Regions from separate parts of the Homo sapiens genome. Here regions 1 and 2 are each linked to region 3. Evidence: promoter capture Hi-C in human tissues and cell types (Jung and others, 2019). All regions are on one chromosome and are shown on one strand. Each heading gives the region's core, a stretch centred on a gene start or on the middle of the fragment in contact. The rest is flanking DNA. Distances are from core to core; before and after follow the strand shown.

The links. The method cuts DNA at HindIII sites, captures the fragments that hold promoters and counts their contacts. A contact is called where the count stands out against the background at its distance.
Region 1: a contact is called between a fragment that was not itself captured here and the fragment with the promoter of KATNB1 in region 3, in 5 of the 25 tissues and cell types used here (dorsolateral prefrontal cortex, liver, mesendoderm cells and 2 more).
Region 2: a contact is called between the fragment with the promoter of CCDC102A here and the fragment with the promoter of KATNB1 in region 3, in 1 of the 25 tissues and cell types used here (stomach).

What each region holds. Positions count from the first base shown.
Region 1 is chr16:57,591,260-57,594,467 of GRCh38, reverse strand. All of the region lies in intron 1 of LOC105371291 (a long non-coding RNA gene), which reads left to right. Among named protein-coding and RNA genes, the nearest start is that of ADGRG1, 36 kb to the left of the region's middle. RefSeq lists an enhancer at 1,477-1,556. The HindIII fragment of the contact is 8,264 bases long and covers 1-3,208 here.
Region 2 is chr16:57,535,170-57,538,530 of GRCh38, reverse strand. CCDC102A (coiled-coil domain containing 102A) reads left to right here and starts at 1,960. Exons shown (of 9, transcript NM_033212.4): 1 at 1,960-2,031. It also overlaps a transcript of ADGRG5 not described here. RefSeq lists a silencer at 1,718-2,667. The HindIII fragment of the contact is 34,087 bases long and covers 1-3,361 here.
Region 3 is chr16:57,733,760-57,737,204 of GRCh38, reverse strand. It overlaps KATNB1 (katanin regulatory subunit B1), which reads right to left and starts at 1,435. Exons shown (of 20, transcript NM_005886.3): 1 at 1,350-1,435; 2 at 1-227. It overlaps LOC107984852 (a long non-coding RNA gene), which reads left to right and starts at 561. Exons shown (of 2, transcript XR_001752221.3): 1 at 561-769; 2 at 1,598-3,376. RefSeq lists enhancers at 240-309, 1,678-1,847, 1,594-1,888, 1,868-1,977, 2,607-3,445 and a silencer at 1,128-1,367. The HindIII fragment of the contact is 17,781 bases long and covers 1-3,445 here.

The sequences.
Region 1 (3,208 bases), core at 477-2,976, 140 kb after region 3:
GATGGCTAGGAGGGGTTGTAAATTTGTTCAACCACTTTAGAAAGCAGGCATTATCTAGTAACATTGAAGATGCTCATGACCTGTGGTTCAGACAGTCCACTTCCAGATACATAGCCTGCAGAAGTACATGCATATTTGTACCGCTACTCACCTATAAGAATGCTTATAGTAGCATTGTTGGTAACAGCCTTAACCTGCAAACATCCCAACATCCACCAGGAAATTAATGGATTAATAAATCATAGTATGTTCACATATTGGAATAGTATACAGCATTGAAAAGGAACAAACTACTTCTACATACAGCAATGCAGATGAATCTTACAAACATAACATTGAGTAAAAGAAGGTGGGTTTCATTCATGTAATCTTCCAAAATAAGCAAAACTAAAACTGTATTGTTTTAAAACTAAAACTAAAGAGCTAAAACTGTATTGTTTAAAACTGTACAGGTGGTAAAACCATAAATAAAAGTGAGAGAGAGATTCCTCTAAGTGTCGGGATAACGTTTCCCTCTCCAGCACAGTGAGGTTGTGATGGAGGATTGGCGGTGGGGGTTTCTGGGGTGGTGGCAATGTTCTCTTTCTTTACCAGGGTTGTAGTTACACAGGGATTTGCTTTATCATTTTTGTTAAACTATGGGCATATCCTGTGTATTCTCCATTTTTTAATGCTTAAATGTTTACCATTTTTTAATGCTTAAAAATAAATAACTAGGCCAGGCATGGTGGTTCACACATATAATCCTTATGCTTTTGGAGGCTGCAGCAGGAGGGTCACTTGAAGCCAGGAGTTCAAGACCACCCTAGGCAATGAAGCAAGACCCCCATCTCTACAGAAAAATTTAAAAATAGCTGGGCATTGTGGTGCACACCGGTAGTTGCAGCTACTCAGGAGGTTGAGATGGGAAGATCACTTGAGCCAAGGAGTTTGAGGCTGCAGTGAGCTTTGATTGTGCCACTGCATTCCAGCCTAGGCAACAGAGTAGATCCTGTCTCTGAAAATCCACCAATCTATCAATCAAACCGAGCCACACACATCACCAATTCTCTTCCCTCCGTTGGGTTCCCCATCTTAGTTACAGACAGGCCACCCCAACTACCCAAGAGTCCAAGACATCAGCCTTGATGATGCTCCAACCTCACCCTCACCCTCACCTGACCTGCAGTGTGGGTTCTACCTCCCAGCACCTCCCAGAGCCTCGCCCCTCCCTTTATTCCTGCTGGCAGCATGACCCAGGTGTGGTGGCTCATCATCACCTGCTGCTGATGCCCAAGCACAATCTAGGACAGCTACTCCTCCCTGGATGCCACTCCAACCTGCCTCCACCCCCTGCCAGAGTGATCTTCTTGAAACACCACTTGGATCAGGAACTCCCCTGGTCAAAGAGCTTCAGTATCTCCCTACTTCCCGAGCACCATAATTGGCTCTTCCTTATTTTTCTGGTTTCTCTCCAGCTCCTCCCACCGCCACTCTGCTCACCAAGCCCACTCTCCTGCATTCTCTCTCTACCCCCACCACACCCAACCCCAAGCCTGTGCCACTTCCCCTCCCTTTTCTCCTGCCTAACCCTGTTCAACACTGTGGTCTTGGTGTAGAAGTCACCTCCCACAGGAAACCCTCCTGCCCTGCACCACCCGGGCCAGGCTGGGTGACACCTCTCTCCCCACTCTAACATCTGCTAGCGGAAGCAGCCAAGCCCACAGGCTCCAGGCACTCCAGAGAGGTCTGTGTTCTTGCAGCCTGGGTTCCTGGGTAAGGGAACAAATGCAGGGCCTGTCTGAGACCAGAGGCTCCCACTGTGCCAGGCACAGCCTGAAAGCAGGTCTGGCGTGCTTCTGAGAAGCAGGCTTCTCAGCCTTAGCAAAGCTTTCCCTGGACCAAGCCTGGAGGGTGTAGAGAACCACGTTGAGACCACGGAGTCTAACCCCAGGCCCTTCCCCCGTTTTCCTTCCAGGAGCAAGCAACCTAAGCCACCCAGATTTTTGTTTAACCCAATGGCCTTCTCCATAAAGGACGAGTTGAATTTCCTACCCATGCAGGGGATGAGAGGCCTTGGAGTCTAATGTGACATAAAAATTAATATGACATTTTTGCACCTCCGAGCTTGACCACACACATCTCATTATGTTATCACTGCCTGATACTTCTCCACTCCCCAGCAAATGGTGAGCCAAAGGTGGGGGAGTGAAGTGGCAGAAACGGGAACTGGGTCTCCTTCCTTCATAGGGTACCCTGGAGCTGAGCAAGTCCTGGCTCAACAGAAGGTCTCACTGCATGTTGGATAGACAGAGAGTAGATGGACAGGTGTTTGAACATTGGATGGATGGATGGATGGATGGATGGATGGATGGATGAATGGATGGATGAAGAGAAGAGCCCACAGACATTAGAATGGACAGATGAGTGGATGAAGGAGGAAGGAAGGATGGATGGATGGAGGGATGGATGGATAGATGGACAGATGGACACGCAGACATTAGAATGGATAGATGGACGGATGAATGGATGGAGGCTGGACGGATGGATGACGGGTGGAGGACAATGGACAGATGGATAGTCAGATGAATGGCTGGATGAAGGAACAGATGAGTGGATAGATGAGGAAATAGAAGATAAAGCGATAATGGATGGATGGGCAGACAAAAGAATGAACAGATAAATGGATGAATGGACAAAAGTATAAATGGATGGGTGAATGTTAGAACAACAGACAGCCCAACAGATGGATGGACACACTTACCAATGTTCTTCTTTAACAGGACTGGGAAAGTCAAGCCAGGGCCTCAGACCTGCTCTTGTTGGAAATGCTCCACCTCATAGATGGCAGGGATGTCATCGCCACCCACAGGCGCTAGGATGAGGGAAGAAGGCAGAAGTGGCCAGCCCTGACCCCTGGTGGTTGCTATGGGAATGATCACCCCAGAGCCTGGCTTGGCTGCGGGAAGCTGGAAAGGGTGGGACATTCCAGCACACTCTGATCTTCTGTCATCCAGGCAGGCTCCCATCAAAACGTTCTTGGACACAGTTTGCCACATCTATAGTGTGCTAGGCACCAAACCAGGAGTTTTCTTACACTCTGAGGGCCTAGTCTTGGCCAAGCCCTGCTAGAGAGAGCTGCTGGGGCCACTGTGGACAGGTGACTCATACGGCATACATTTATGCATTGCTTGTCACGCCAGGCTGCGAGCCAGCCCACTCACTCCTT
Region 2 (3,361 bases), core at 711-3,210, 200 kb after region 3:
TACTCGAGACGATCCTCTGGCCTCTGCCTCCCAAGTTAGCTGGGGCTACAGGAGCGTACCATCACACCTGTCTAAACTTTTTATCTTTTTGTAGAGACAGAGTGTCCCTATGTTCCCACGCTGGTCTTGAACTCCCGGCCTCAGGCGATCCTCCCGCTTTGGCTTCCCAAAGCACTGGGATTACAAGTGTGAGCCGCCGTGCCCAGTCCAGTCATTTCTGATCTTCACTTTTCTCATTATGAGAGGGTGGTAATAACACCCAGCCCCTAGGTAACTAAGATAACATCATGCGAGCTGCCAAAACCTGTGGCCAGCACCTACTTTGGTTCTACGATCGGGTGGGTCACGTCACCCCACCCTAGCCCCTGCAAAAGACATCCTCAGGACAATATTTACTGCTTCTTCCTAAGGAGAGAAGGCCTGATAGTGATGAGGTTATAGCTGGAGTTCAGGTGCACCATCAACTCAGTCTCCACCACCTTCCCCAGCCCCATTTCCACCTCCAAAAACTCTGGGCAAGACCTCTGGGCTCTTGATCCAAGGCTGTTACTGGCTGTAGGACCTTGTGCAAGTCTGAGCCAAGAGCCTCTCTGAGCCTTCATTTCCTCAGCTGTAAAATGTGGATGCCCTTGTCCTCTGAGTACTCAAACCCCACATACATCTCCTATCTATCTCTGGCTGGTGAACAGACGCTTTCAACATTCAGCCACGCATAACAAATACAAAGCAAATGAATCGACAAGTGAAACTGCCAGTCTTGCAACGTATGGGATTTCATGAAGTTGGTGGAAGCAAAGCAGGAGAAATGGAACAGCCGCTGCCCACAGAGAAAGGGAACGTCTGCAAGGGAAGTGACCCAGACCCGAAAAAAGGCACTGGACTATCAAAGGATTCAGAGTGATCCTTGAGTTTGAGGAAGCTCTCAAATATTTTTGCAAAAATGAATCTCTTACTGCAAAAACCAGTTCAGAAGGGAAGGATGCTACATACTCAACTATTACAAGAAAAAGCAAGACTTCCAGTGTTAACATCTGATTCATTCTTGGTTCATTTTAAGGCGTGCGTGGTTGCAATCATAATCTAAACTCCGTTAATCACGGGGTAAAACTAATTTATCTTCGTAATATTTAGCTTCTTTTTCTAGGTAAAATCCCAATCAGGCCAGGTTTTCCCCACCATCTTGGTGAATTGTTGGTCTTCTTTTAAATAGATTCACCTCGGGGGCCTTCCAGGGTACAGGATGTAGTGGGGAGTCCTCCAGACGCCTGTCCCGGCTTTCCAGTCAAGACCACAAACATCCTACCCCCAATAGAGAGAAAGCCCCAAAACAGCTGGGCGTCCCCGAAGGCGAAGTACCGTAATTCCCCAGGGCCTGCCAACCACCATCGCAATGCAGAGAAAAGTCTCCGCCCGCCGGGCCGAGTGCTCCCCGCGCCCCCCACCTCTTAACAAGCGCAAGGTTGCTTTCGTCAACCCTTCTGTTGTACAGAAAGAGAAACTGAGGCCCGATGGGCACAGACTTGTTGGCCCACTTCCACTCGGTGGCAGAGCTGGCCCAGGGAAAAATGCAGGTAACAACAGTGAAGACTTGGTAAGCTCGCTCCACGTGCCGAGCTGGGACCCGCGGTGGCCGTTTCTGCTGGGGGCGCCTAGTACGTAGTTGGCGCTGAGGAAACCTGAACCAAGAAAGCCGAGCCCCCCCGCAACTCTCGGCCCCTCACGGGGGTGGGGCCTCCGTTGGGGTACGGCCCGCTCTGCAGCAGAGCCCACCGCCCCGGCCCGCACCCCTCGCCCCGAAGTTAGGCTGGAGCCCCCACCCCAGCAGCTCGGTGGGCCGGGGTCACAGCGGGGCCGCAGCCTGCGACCGCTTCGGGGGCCCCGCCGCTCCCCCTGCTTCCCCTCCCCCCGGGAGGGAGGAGGAGACTCCGCGGCCCTCCCTCGGCCCCTCCGGCGGCGGTCGCAGCTGCACGGTGCCCGCTCTACCCCGCCGCAGCGGCTGGGACGTACGGAGCCCGCAAGTCCCGGCCCGAGGTGAGCGGGGGCGGCAGGCCGGGGGGCGGCAGGCCAAGGCGGCCCGGGAACTTGCTCCAGGCCGCGCGCCTTCCGCGGGAAGGAAGGGGTTAAGTTGTGGGGCGTGCTGGAGGAGCAGACACAGTCGGGGCGCCCGCGGCAACCCCCGAACTCAGAGCAGAACTTTCTAGACGCCTCCCCGGCCTCCCTCAGCCCCCGGAACCCCAGGTCTCCGGTGGGGAGGGGCCGCGGGGTGATGGGGGAGGGGAGGCGCCTCCGGAATGCCGCGGCCCGGGCCGGACGGGAGGGGGCGGCGGGCGGGGACGGAATTTGGGACTCTCCCGGGGGACCCAACGTGGTCGCCATGGCGAATGCGGGATGGACGGGCGGCGCTGGCCAATCAGAGCACGGCGCCCTGCCCAGAGCCGCGGCGACTGCCAATGGGGGCCATGCGGTGGGGTGGGCGGGACCGCGCGGCGCGGGCCGGGAACCCCCTCCACCCTCCGCCCGTCGCTAGGTGGAGCGGGGCGGTTCGCAGGGCCAGCGGCTTGGGAGGGGTCGACTAAGTGAGGACTAAGGCGACGCAGGGCTGGGGCTTCAGTTTCAGTACCTTAGGTGGGGGTGGTGTCCACCTTCCCACCCCCGCTCTCCCAGGGCTCTTGTGGGGGTTGGATTGGTTTGGGTTCGGGAGGTCTGCCCACCTGTTAGAGCGTTCAGGAATCTTTTTAGTGCCTCTCCCCATCCTGTAGGTAAGGAAACTGAGGCCCAGAGAGGGCAGGGACTTGCAGATATCACACAGCATATCAGTGATGGAGCTGGGACTAGCGGGATGTCTGCTGTACAAGAGTGAAGAGTTCACGGTGTTGCCGAGAGGGGTGGGGCTGGGGTCGGGGTGGGGCTGGGTCCCCATGAAGGTTCACCCCACCATTCCAGCTGTGCGTATCCACTTGGCCTGGTGCCTGCAGACCCCATCGTGTAGGTGCTCTCGGGGGCATTGTGCCCCTCAGGTGGCTAAGATCCAGAAGAGGAGGCATCCCATCACCAGCTCCCTACTCTGGCCTTGCTGCTGGTCCGCGGTGTGGACACAGACACGTAGCTGTCCCTCTGGGCCTCAGTTGGTCCATATGTAAAGAAAGGAGTTCAAATCAATGATCCAGGCTGTCTCTGTGGCTCCTCAGTCTAAGATGGGGCTACCTGGGAATAGGCCAGGGGTGCCTACCCCTGGGCTTAGGTCCAGCCTGGAGGCCTAGCCGCCATCCCTTCCTTTCCCGCCAGCCAGCTCCCCCCAGAGGTCCTGCAGCTGGATCCTGGGCAGCAGGTCACAGGGACAGGTGCCCGCAGTCTGTGGGCT
Region 3 (3,445 bases), core at 186-2,685:
AAACTGTGCTTTCCTCGTGGGGTGGGGGTGGATCCCCCCCCAGATCCACCAATCAAGTTGGCAGAGAGTTCCCACACATCCAGGCAGACAGAATGCCTCGTCTTCTGGCCCTGGGGTGCCTCGTGGTTCCAAATTACCCACAGCAGCAACAGCAGCAGCCTGTGCACATCTGTCACGATCCTGGATCATGGAATGTTAGGCTCGAGCCATCTCAGCTCAATACAGGGCTGCAATACAAACAAGAGGTGACGTCATGTTAGAAAATGCTTGGTAAGAGCTGTTGCTCCCTGGATCACCAAGACCACTTGATAAAGACTGACACCCACCAAAGCCACCAGAGTCAGAAGCTGCACTGCAAATTAGGTTTGGGAATCTGCAGAGGGGGCACCTCAGGTAGGGTGATTTGGAACGTAAGGAAAAAGAAACTCCTCCCAGAGGCCAGGATAATGAGCTGCAGCTCTGTTCCGGGATGCTGGCTGCCTAAAGTGCAGCAGCCGCAGTGGGGCGGAGAAGACCACGTGTCTGCAATTCACATAGATTTCCTGCGAGTCGTTGTTTTTGTCTGACGTGTGGGATGTGGGAGAGCGGAGTCAGAAGCTAAGCTTAGGGGCCTAGGAAAGGCATCCCAGAGACGGCCACTGAAGTCCTCCTTGGAAAGAATCTCGAAGACGACCCTGATGGTCCAATTCCCCAGCTCCTGGCAAGGGAACCGCTCCTGCTCCCTGCGATTCCCAAGGACAGAGCTAGGAACTAGGCCTCCAGTCTGGGCGTAAGTGGCTATGACTCTTCAACTCTAAAAGGCCTCCTCATGGAGCCTCCCACCTCCTTCCCACAGCCACTTCACCTCTTTCCCATGAGCCCGCTCCCCTCCGTCCCCTTTCTCCTGGGTCCCCGGGTCTGCCTCTCTAGTCCTCCGTTCACACCCCCTTTTCTCCCTGCCCCCTGAGTCTCCCACTTATGCACATCCTGTCTCCCGATATCCCTCACGTGGCCCCTGCCTCGCCAGACTCCCGTTACTGCCCTTTCCCATATGCTCGCGGGGTCTCCCATTCATTCATTCTCCTACTTCTCTTCTCCCTATTCATTACCTGTCCTTCTGCAGACCCCCAGCTCTGCTTCCGGCCTCCCTGGTTTTGCCCCCTCCGGCCTCCACCCCGACCCCTCTCGTCCGGGGGCGGGGGCAGGTCCCTCGGCCACGGCTGATCCTCCCAACCCTCTGCTTGCGGAGTACGGGCTCTAGCCTCCCCACGCTCAGAGCTCTCTGCCCGCAAGCCCAGCCAGCCCCGCCTGGCTCGGCCCAGCCCAGGGCCCACCGTCCCCTCGCCACCTCGTCCCCTTGCCCACTCCACCTGCAGCTGCGGCTCCGGAGGCCGAGGCTCCGCTCCAGGCGCGACCCCCACTTGCCTCCATCCCCTGCCTTGATTGGCCGCTGCTTGACAACCGACCCTCACAACAAAACCTCCGGCTCAGAGCCCCGCCCACCTTGCCTCCCGCACCAATCAGCTGCCGCGGGTGCTCCGCCTCCTGCCAGGACTGACCAATGGAAGCAGGCGCTTCTGCCGCTTTTCCTCAGTACCCGCCCTCTTTTCCTAAATAGGACTAATCAAGAGGAAGGAACGTTCAAGAGCCGCCCCTTGGCCTCTAATAAACCAATGCAAGCTGCCGTTTCCTTAGTCCCGCCTCCGTCTCAAGTTTTCCCTTTCCTCTCCGTTTCCTCCCTCGAACCTAATTTGTGTCTGAAAACTTTTGAGAGCCGCCCTCCAATGGCGGCTGCGCCAATGGCTTGAGCAACCGTCCTGGATTGACCAATCAGCGTCCGCATTATTGGAAAACTCAATTCCCAGATAGCCAATGGGAAAGGAACTTCGGGGGCAGTGTGAAGCCTCAGGCCTTCCATCTTGGAGTGGGGCAAAACCTAAGGAGGCCTTAGTCGGCATTTTGCCGAAGCTCCTCATTCTTCACTTTGCCTGCAGATGGTCCCCCGTGGCAGGAGGACTTTGTCCCTGTTCTTTGACCCGGACGCCGGCTTGAATCCCCCATGGGAGGTCTAGAAGGAAACAGCCTGATTCCGGAGCCGAGGCAGGCGCTGAACCCTGTAGCACTGCACACGCAGCCACCGCCTCGACTAATGGATGCGTGGGCAAGGGGCTGCTCCCTGAATGGCTGCAATCAGGGAATCGGAGAAAGGCCAGCTTTATTTGTGACACGTTGGGCGGGGTGGGCTCTGGGAAGCGCCGTAACCCTTCTCGACTCAGGGCCTCTCGCGTGGCCGCTTAGGAGGGACTTGGCCCCGCAGCCGCCTCTCCCTGTTGCCCAGAGGTTGTCCCAGGCACCCAGAGCCCCTCGAACCTTGCCCTTCGGCCTCCAGCCTCTCACCGCAGGTCAGGGCTCCTTGGGCTCACATAACGCCCAGTACAACCATAAGAGGTAGGAATTCCTGTTCCCATTTACAGATGAGGAAACTGAGGCCCGGGTTAAGATGCTTGCAGAAAACCACACGGTCAGAAAGTAATAGCCCCAGAATTCGAACCCTTGTTCTGAAAGCCAAAGCGTGGGGGAGTCCCCACTCTGCCTTCTGCTTCAGCCTTCTGCTTCAGATTCTCCTGCTTCAGCCTCCTGGGTAGCTGGAACCACAGGCGCCCGCCACCACGACGGGCTAAGGCTAGTTTTTATATTTTTAGTAGAGACGGGGTTTCTCCATTTTGGCCAGGCTGGTCTTGAACTCCTGACCTTAGGTGATCCACCCGCCCCAGCCTCCCGAAGTGCTGGGATTACAGGCGTGAGTCACCGCAAGACACCTTTAAAAGATTAGCAGAATAACATCGGATCAAAACTGTCTAGCCTGCAGTTCCCCTTAATTTTGTATTATAAAAAGAAAACTAAACAGAGAAAACTTTAAAAGACAATATAATGATACCACGTAGATTCCAGTACTTGTTAACAGTTTGCCATATTTGCTTCGTCTGTGTGTCTTTTCGGAACCATTTGAAAATTGTAGATATGACATTTCACCCCAACACCAAATACTGAGCATGTATCTCTTAAAAATAAGGCCCTTGGCCAGGCGCGGTGGCTCACGCCTGCAATCCCAGCACTTTGGGAGGCCAAGGCGGGCGGATCACCTGAGGTCAGGAGTCCGAGACCAACCTGGCCAACATGGTGAAACCCCGTCTCTACAAAAAAATACAAAAATTAGCCGGGCGTGGTGGCGCACGTGCCTATAATCCTAGCTACTGGGGAGGCTGAGGCAGGAGAATCACTTGAAACTGGGAAGCAGAGGTTGCGGTGAGCTGGGATGGGGCCACTGTACTCCAGCCTGGGCGACAGAGTGAGATCCATTTCAAAAAATAAAAATAAAGCCCTTATTCTACAATAACCATTGTTATCACCACTGCTAAGAAAATTTAATTCTGTAACAACCAGTCCATATTCGTATGTCCCCAGT